2 separate regions of the Homo sapiens genome follow, and region 2 is linked to region 1. Evidence: promoter capture Hi-C in human tissues and cell types (Jung and others, 2019). All regions are on one chromosome and are shown on one strand. The core of a region is centred on a gene start or on the middle of the fragment in contact, and the rest is flanking DNA. Distances in the headings are between cores, read along the strand shown.

Region 1 (4,039 bases), core at 422-2,921:
AATTAGAACCTGTTGTATTTCCCAAGAAGTGCTATTAAAGTTACTTCCAAAATATGAATCTATAAAAAACAGGGTTTTTTTGAAAAACAATACTATGCAGAAAGAAACATGAAACTGATATCACTGCTCAAGTTACTATTTACAAATTGCAAATTGAATAAAGTTAAATATTGTAAATATCTGCCATTAATCTGAACTGACAATTTTATAAGTTATATGAACCCTGAAGTTTTTTTATAGACAAAATTGTTTTTGAAAATCGATCTTGCCACCAGCGCTGCAAATGAAAATATGAAGAGATAAACCAGAGAGTACTGAATATAATCTATGCTTCATAGAGTCATGTTTCAACTAATTTATGAGTCCTAGTTTGCCATATCTTATTTGACAATTTAGTCTATTGGTAGAAAAAACAAAAGCAAACTAAAATCTCCTAAGAAATCTCAGCTCTAAGGAATTATAATTTATATTCTTCCATTCCCGATAAAATTAAGAAGCAAGAAGCTTTGACGACTACTCATCACAAACGTAAAAGTCCATGCAATTTCACATTTACCTTTATCCCTACCTTTGTACTTTAAAATAACTGCTTTTTAAAATAATAATCTGATATTAAATTCCCCCCAACAGTTCCCACATGATTCAAGAAGATTATCTTATAAAGTCTTACTGTAACGACTTCATAACTGCCACTTCCGATAGCTATTAGCCCTAAACCAAATAAGGCAGGAACAGCACTTTTCATTCATATAGTTTGACTCGAAATAGCCCAGTGTAAAACTTCAAAAATAGACTTGGATGCCTTTTTCTGCTTAAAAACAAAGCAAAACTGATACCTGGCAAACTCGGGGTTCTGTTCGATTTTGGCCTGTGAAATGCCAGGCGGGCCCGCTGGAGTCTGGCCCAGCAGCGGGGCAGCAGCGCAGGGAGGGCGGGCGGCGGGTGCGCTCCCGGGTGCGCCCCTCCCTGCCGCCTGCCCGCCGCCCCGCACCCCCGTCCTCTCCGAGGCGCGCGGCGAAAAGCGCAGGCCTGGCGGGCCGGTTCCCACGCCTCGGGCCCGTTATCTGAGCGGCAACCCCGGCAGGGTCGACGCACAGAGCAGAGGGCTCCGGGATGGACCCCTCCCCTGCCTCCCGCGGGCTGCCCCGCCAGATCCCTCTCTCCTGGGCCCGCGCGGGGCGAGAGGCTCCCGCGGGTTCAGGTTCGCTCCCGGGACAGGATAAGGTGTCAGTGAGGCTGCCAGACGCCTCCCTTCGGCGGGTGGGGGGAAACCAGCCCTGACCTCCTTCCGTTCGGCCCCTCACCGCTGGCGCGGGGCGCAACCCTTCTGCTCCCCTTCTCGGCTGAGGCAGGGGCTGTCCCCGCAGGTGGCCGAGGGGGCGCAGCAGGCGCAGAATGGAATCCCGGCTCGGGGTCACACCCTAACGTGGCAGGGTCGGGGTGGGAGGGGTGAGGCGAGGAGGAGAGGGGAGGGGAGCCCGAACTTACCGGACTGCGCACTTCCCAGAGCCGCGGCCAGGCAGAGGCAGAGGCAGAGGGAGAGGCAGAGCGAGAGGGGGCGCGGGAGGGTCCGCCGCGGGCTCATGGAAAGGCCAGGCAGCCGCCGCCGGTGTCCGAACCTCGCTCCCTCCCTCCCCGGCTCCGGGCGACGGACGGGGCGGCGGGAGGCATGACGGGAAATTCCTGGGCACGGGCAGCCGAGTCCAAATATGAGCATAGGAGACGAGCGAGGGAGGACCACGGAGCGCGCCGGCCGCGGACGGGGCCCGCTGCCCGGGGCTCGGCGGCCGCCAACTCCCTCCTCCTCTGCCCTGTCCTCTTCCTCCTCCTCCTCCTCCTCTGCACCGTCCTCCTCCTCCTCCTTCTCTGCCCTGCCCTCCTGCTCCTCTCCTCCCCCTCGTCCTCCTCTGCCCCAGGGCTGCCGGCCGCCTTCTGCCTGGGGGCATCCCTTTCCAACTCGGGACCCCAGAACACAGCCAAGCGCCCACCTGGCGTGTTCCACCTGAGACCGCTGAAGGAGTGGGAAACGGACAAACCAACACGAAGAGACCGGACAGCGAGCCAGGGACCTGTGGGAAGACGTGTCAGGGGTTGTTGAGAGCGTTGGTGGTGAGGGGATAAAAAGTTGTGGGAGAGTGAGGCAGGAGCAGGGCTGCCAGTTAGTTACTTGGCCATCCTATACATACAGAACGAGCACTCACTGTAATACGGAGAACCAGCCGCCTGCGTTCCAGGTGAGCGGGCCCTCTCTAGCAGAGGAGGGTGAGTGTGTGTGTGTTCTTGGCCAAAATTGCAAAGGTGCTCGTCCCAAACTTATATTTGAACACCATATATGGAGCCCAGGCAGGCTGGCTGAACAGTAGTTTTTCACAACAAAATGCTTAAGTTTACACCGGTCTTTCTCTCCACCTCCAATCTCTATTCATGTCCACCCCCCAACCCCCTCCACACACTTGTTTTGTATGTACCGTAGCTTGTCTAAAATGAAATGGTGTAATTCATTCAGAAGGTGCCACCTCTGATGAACAAAATGTCAGTCCTAGATGTTTAATTACAGGCCCAAGCCTGTAGTTGCCTAATTTTCCTTGGCACTGATAACTCCTTGGGTAATCAAGTCCAAATGACCCTTAGCTTTTCAAGACAACATAATTATGTCTTAATTACTATAATATATTTTTTCCCTCAAACTAATGGGACAGGACCTGGATATGTAGGGTATTAAGTAGTTACTTACGAACATTTTAAGATGCTAGATGATACAGAAATGATTTATTGATCCAAAATACTTAAGGGGTAAATGTCAAACAGATTTAGAGTGTGGATTATTTCAACGTGAACTAAAGTGATGGTAATTTGTACATCACACTATTTGTTTGAAAATGCTGTATTTGAAAATCAAGAACGTTGTTTCAAATCAAACTCAGTTCTGGCAAACTATTAAAACACATACACCAAAAAACAGTCCATTGCAAGTGGCTCCCCTCAAAACATCTGGTACTGAAAAACACCACATCCTGTGAATTACATATAGCAAATGGGCAAATGTCACCCTTAATGCATTGGCAATTATAATGGGACTAAGGGTAGATGACCCAGATAAAGTAATGGTGAATAAATTGTAATGCAATGAATAAAGGATTTAAATGACACATAACATGACTATTTAATTAGGTACCTAGAACCTAGGTAGTTGGAAATACTGAAGAAGCTCTTCAGTATTCCCTCCGTTTCCTCTTTTTTTATAGCCTTGTGTTACATAAGTGTCTGTTTTTCTACTTCCCCCACAACACTTTGCAAAGTTCTTTGCCCATAGTCCAAATGTTTGTTTAAAAACAAAAATAAAATGGGCACAGCCATTTGTAGAAAGGAATTTAGAAGCTCCCTAAGTGTAAAGCATGTTTCAAAGGATTGCAATAATTATGCCTATATTTAAAATATTTTAGTGAAGAACCTTACATACAAAAATATAGAATTATAAAAAATGCAATATCATTACAACCCAATTCATGTTAGTAAAAATAGAGAGTTCATTGTATCAACATAGCTGACATCACTGTCAGCAATGCCAACCACTATTCTAAAGGCTTGAATAAATATGCTAAGAGTGGCAGAAAAGAACTAAAGTTACTAAGTGCATGATAAGTGCCAGACACTGTGCTAGATGTTTTTTATAACTGATATCTCATTTAATTCTTACAAATATCTCTGAGATTATTTTTATCCCTATTTTACAGCTAAGGAGACTGAGGCATAGGTAAGTAATATGCTACCAGGAAGAAGTGAAGTAGTATTAGAATTAAATCCTCATTCTAAAGTGCATATATACTTTTACCATACTAATCTGTCTTATTTTCTCTACATTAAAAAAAAGTGGCATTCAAAAACTGTATTCATTGGGCGCTTTTGGTTTTAAGTAACTGGTATGCACTCAGGTTACCTCAAGTAACCAAGGTAAAGAATACATGTGGAAATAAGACCAGAGGCTTACCTGGCTTGTCAGATCATCCTTTGTAGGCATGGTGGGCGGGGCCTGTGCCTT
Region 2 (4,039 bases), core at 475-2,974, 340 kb before region 1:
CTATAAAAGCATTTGCATCCACACGCCTTGTCATATAACTGCAGTGCTTCTGTACAGCGGACAAGGCATTCATCTCTGCCGTTGGGCTTTGCCATGTGACTTTTTCTGGCCAATGGGATGTGAGCAGATGTGTTCTGAACAGAGGCTTCATGGCACTTGCATGGTCCGGTTTGCGCTCTTGGGCATTTGCCATCTGCCATGAAACAAGCAAGTCCCAGTCAGCTACCAGAGTGAGAAATTAGGTAGAGCAAACCTGAACTCACCTAGAGCCTGCCAATGCACAGATCCTTAGCCAAAAAGTGAAACTTTATTGTTGAACCCACTAAGATTTCATAGTTGTTTGCTACCCAGAATTAGTATAGCCCAAATCTGACTAATGTAGCCACAAATAAACATAACTAACTTATTAATAGTAACTCTCCTACCTGGAATTTAATATAGAAAGAAAATTTCACCTTTCATTAAAATTAAAGTTAAAAATAAAAGGCATTTCATGGTTTTTCTAAAGCTTCCTTGAAAGTGAGCACATTAAAATATGAAAAGTGAGGTATATTTCCTAAGACAAACATGATTTAAGGCGCTGTTCTAATGAAGGTGAAATGTCTGGCAGTGAAAGAGCACAGGAGTAGGAGCAGAAAGTGTGTCCTAGCTAGATTTTATGCCCTGTCTTCCCCTGGGTGAGCCACCAAAAATCAAGAAATCCCTGGACATTCCTACATCTAGAACATGAGGACATCGCAGCAGATGGTTGCTAAGGTAGCTTTCTGCTCTAACATCTGATTTGCCATTTTCATGTAGAATTAGAATAAAAATTATCTCATAGCAATAGAAGAAAAGTACTCACTGATGGATGGAAACAAGAATTTTAAAAATATCCCATGGAATTGAATTATTCTATTGTACATAGAATTTAAAAGCAAATGAAAAGAAGGACAGCCTCAAATCAAATCACGTCAAAAGGATAAAACTCTTATAAGGCAGCTTATTCTACAGAATGGCTTGTGGCCATTTTTCTTTGATAAGAAAATAAGTGGAGAAACAGTGTCATCTTTATTTTTTATTTATTTATTTTTACTTACATTTATGTTTATTTAGGACTAAAGAGGGTTATGGAGATTATGGGGGAGCTGAAAACCTCATGGTGTTGGCTTCTGTTTTTTTTCTAATTTCAGTTTATATTTTAGATACAGGGGGTACACATGCAGGTTTGTTACATGTGAATATTGCACCATGCTGAGGTTTGGAGTACAGCCCCCATCACCAAGGTAGTGAACATAGTGCCTGATAGGTAGTTTTTCAACCCATGCCCCCCTCCCAGTAGTCCCTAGTGTCTATCGCTCCCATTTTATGTCCATATGTTCTCAATGTTTAGCTCCTAATGTAAGTGAGAACATGTGGTATTTGGCTTTCTATTCCTTCGTGAATTCACTTAGTACTATGGTCTCCAACTGCATCCACGTTGCTGAAAAGGACATGATTTCATTCTTTTTGTATGGCTTTGTAGCATTTCATGGTGTATATGTGCCACATTTTCTTAATCCAATCTACCGGTGATGGGCACCTGGGTTGATTCCAATGTCTTTGTTATTGTGGATAGTGCAGTGATAAACATACAAGGGTATGTGTCTTCTTGGTAGAATGATTTATTTTCCTTTGGTTACATACCCAGTATCAAAGTATCATTTTTATTAATAAGAATACAATTTAAAAAATAACAAGTCACTGGAAAGTAAATTTGTTGAAAGTTATTCTCATCCAACTTTTACGTAGCAAACGCATGGATCAAGTGTCTGGGTTGCTGTCTGTATTATCCATATTCACTATTCTTAGAACTGCTTCTGTAAAACTGATGTACTAGCCTCTCCAAGCTTTGCTCCAGGTTACAGCCTGCTTCTTTAGGCAGGAACGGAGTTGTAGAAATGGTTGCTCTCTGAAAGACAAACTTTATGGGAGGAATTCCTTTTTAGTGTCTTTTTTTAACTCCTCTTCAAGAAAAATGATCTGTCTTGGTAACATGTCTTGTCTTTTCCTGATCACTTTTTGCAATGTGCCTTCCCCTAGCAATCTGCTACAGCAATCAGCTTTTTCTGCGAAGGAGCCCTGTCATCTCTCAAGGCAGGGAGAATCATCAATGGCATCTCACTTCAACAAATTAGCCACAGTGTTTACACTGCAAGTCCTGGAGGCTGAGCTTTCTTGCATTTCAAGAAATTCCCAGGATTCTAATGTTTTTTCCAAGTGAGAATGTTTTGATCCAATGCATTTTACTTCTCTGGCTTAACATACATTATTCTATGGGCACCTACTGAATGCTTTAAGCCAAACTCTTAGAAATATTAATGCACATACACACATACACTGTTGATGCAAATAAAAAAGGCAGTGTGCTGCAGGAGAGAGAAACTGATTTGAAAGTTAGGAAACTTAGAGATTTACATTCTAGTTCTAGTTCAGGTAAGCCAATCATTAACTGTGTGACTTTAGGCATATCACTTCCCCTAAGATTCTCTTTCCTCCATTGTAAAATGAAAAACAAAGGGCTTGGGTTAGATTAATCCTAATAACTACTCCAGCGCTAGCATTCTATAACTTTAGGCTTCTAATTGGTAGCTAGATAGGGATAAATTGTTAAGGCAAGGCGGTGGAAGCCATTGTGCATAAGTCCTGTGATCAGCTTTTACCCCAAGCAGAAGCTGTAACTTGTCAGGGGCTTATTAAAAGAAGGGCAGCCCTGAAAGACTCACAAAACCCTTGCCTCAATTCTCACACAATATTATTAATATGGCTACAAAATAGTGGTATCACAAGGCGGCTTCAACTGCTGCCACTACTATATTTTATTAGTTGTATTGGTCCTCATGCAGAGCCCAAGGGTCTGAGCATTTGAAGAGCTCATATTATAGGGCTGAGGCTAAGGGAAGAATAATAATAATTAAAAAAAAAAACATAGTCAGGGGTGACCTAAGTAACTTCCTGAAGTTCCTTTCAGGCCCATGAGTTAATGTATAGGAAGAACAAGCTTATTAATCAAAAAACACTGATCTGCTCAATGTCTAATTATACCTGTCACTGTTGTTGCCCACACTTCAGGCCTGATATGTTTCTTCACTGAAGTCACGTGGCTGTATTTTCAGACCAGTTTCTAGTTGCTCTGTGTATTTTCTGTGTGACACATCTCTTCCATGTGACAGTTGAAAATTGTCCAGAGAAACACCAAAACCCCGCTATAGAACAACCCTGCAACCCAGAGACCATACAACCCCTTTCTCTTCTCCTCCCCCGCCCAGAGCCTCCTGTTAAATTTCCAGCCATCTCTCAAGGCCAAGCTCAAACCCTTCCTCCTCCGAGAAGCCTTTCTTGATCCTCTCCCCATCAGTCTTAATCCCTCCATTTCTTATACTCCCCAAGCACTTTGTACCTCTATTATTTTAGCACTTACTTACCAAAGTCTGTCTTACATTAAAGTTATTTTGTGCATATGTTTTTGCCATGACATTTCAAGCTTTTAGAGGGAAGAAACAAGTCTTATTTTTCCTTTCTATTGCCTGCAACATTCAGGAAAAGGGTTTGCTCATAGTAGACACTTAAAATTGTTCCATGAAGCGTGAAAGTAGAAAATGAGTGAAGCGAGAACCATGTCTTATTCATTCTTTCATTTTCACATTTTATTACAAAATGCTTTTTATGTAGTAAAATTCTTAAAATTGTTGGATCACTTATAAATGCATTAAATAATGTAAAAATACTAAAGTAGAAAACTAATTAGCCTTGTAATTTGCTCATATTGCCATTAAAATAAATTTAGTTTATTTAATCAATGTCAAGAATGAAATTTGCCAGTAATATTCCTTTAGAAGTAAATGCTCCTTTCATTCACCCAATGAATTTATTTATAACGAGTCTCTGCACACTTTAATTTGGAAGGAATGCATATATTTAATGAAACACTCAGAGTATTTAATTAATCATTTACAACAAGTCATAAAAGACATGAAAAACCATCTTTCCATTTATATGACTATTTCCTAGTATAACAAAC

The links. The method cuts DNA at HindIII sites, captures the fragments that hold promoters and counts their contacts. A contact is called where the count stands out against the background at its distance.
Region 2: a contact is called between a fragment that was not itself captured here and the fragment with the promoter of MSRB3 in region 1, in 1 of the 25 tissues and cell types used here (hippocampus).

Annotation. Positions count from the first base shown.
Region 1 is chr12:65,276,315-65,280,353 of GRCh38, reverse strand. MSRB3 (methionine sulfoxide reductase B3) reads right to left here and starts at 1,671. Exons shown (of 7, transcript NM_001031679.3): 1 at 1,489-1,671. RefSeq lists silencers at 922-1,231, 1,332-1,461. The HindIII fragment of the contact is 15,252 bases long and covers 1-4,039 here.
Region 2 is chr12:65,618,326-65,622,364 of GRCh38, reverse strand. The region is part of intron 1 of MSRB3-AS1 (MSRB3 antisense RNA 1); the gene reads left to right. It overlaps LOC105369806 (a long non-coding RNA gene), which reads right to left and starts at 69. Exons shown (of 4, transcript XR_945028.3): 1 at 1-69. The HindIII fragment of the contact is 3,074 bases long and covers 188-3,261 here.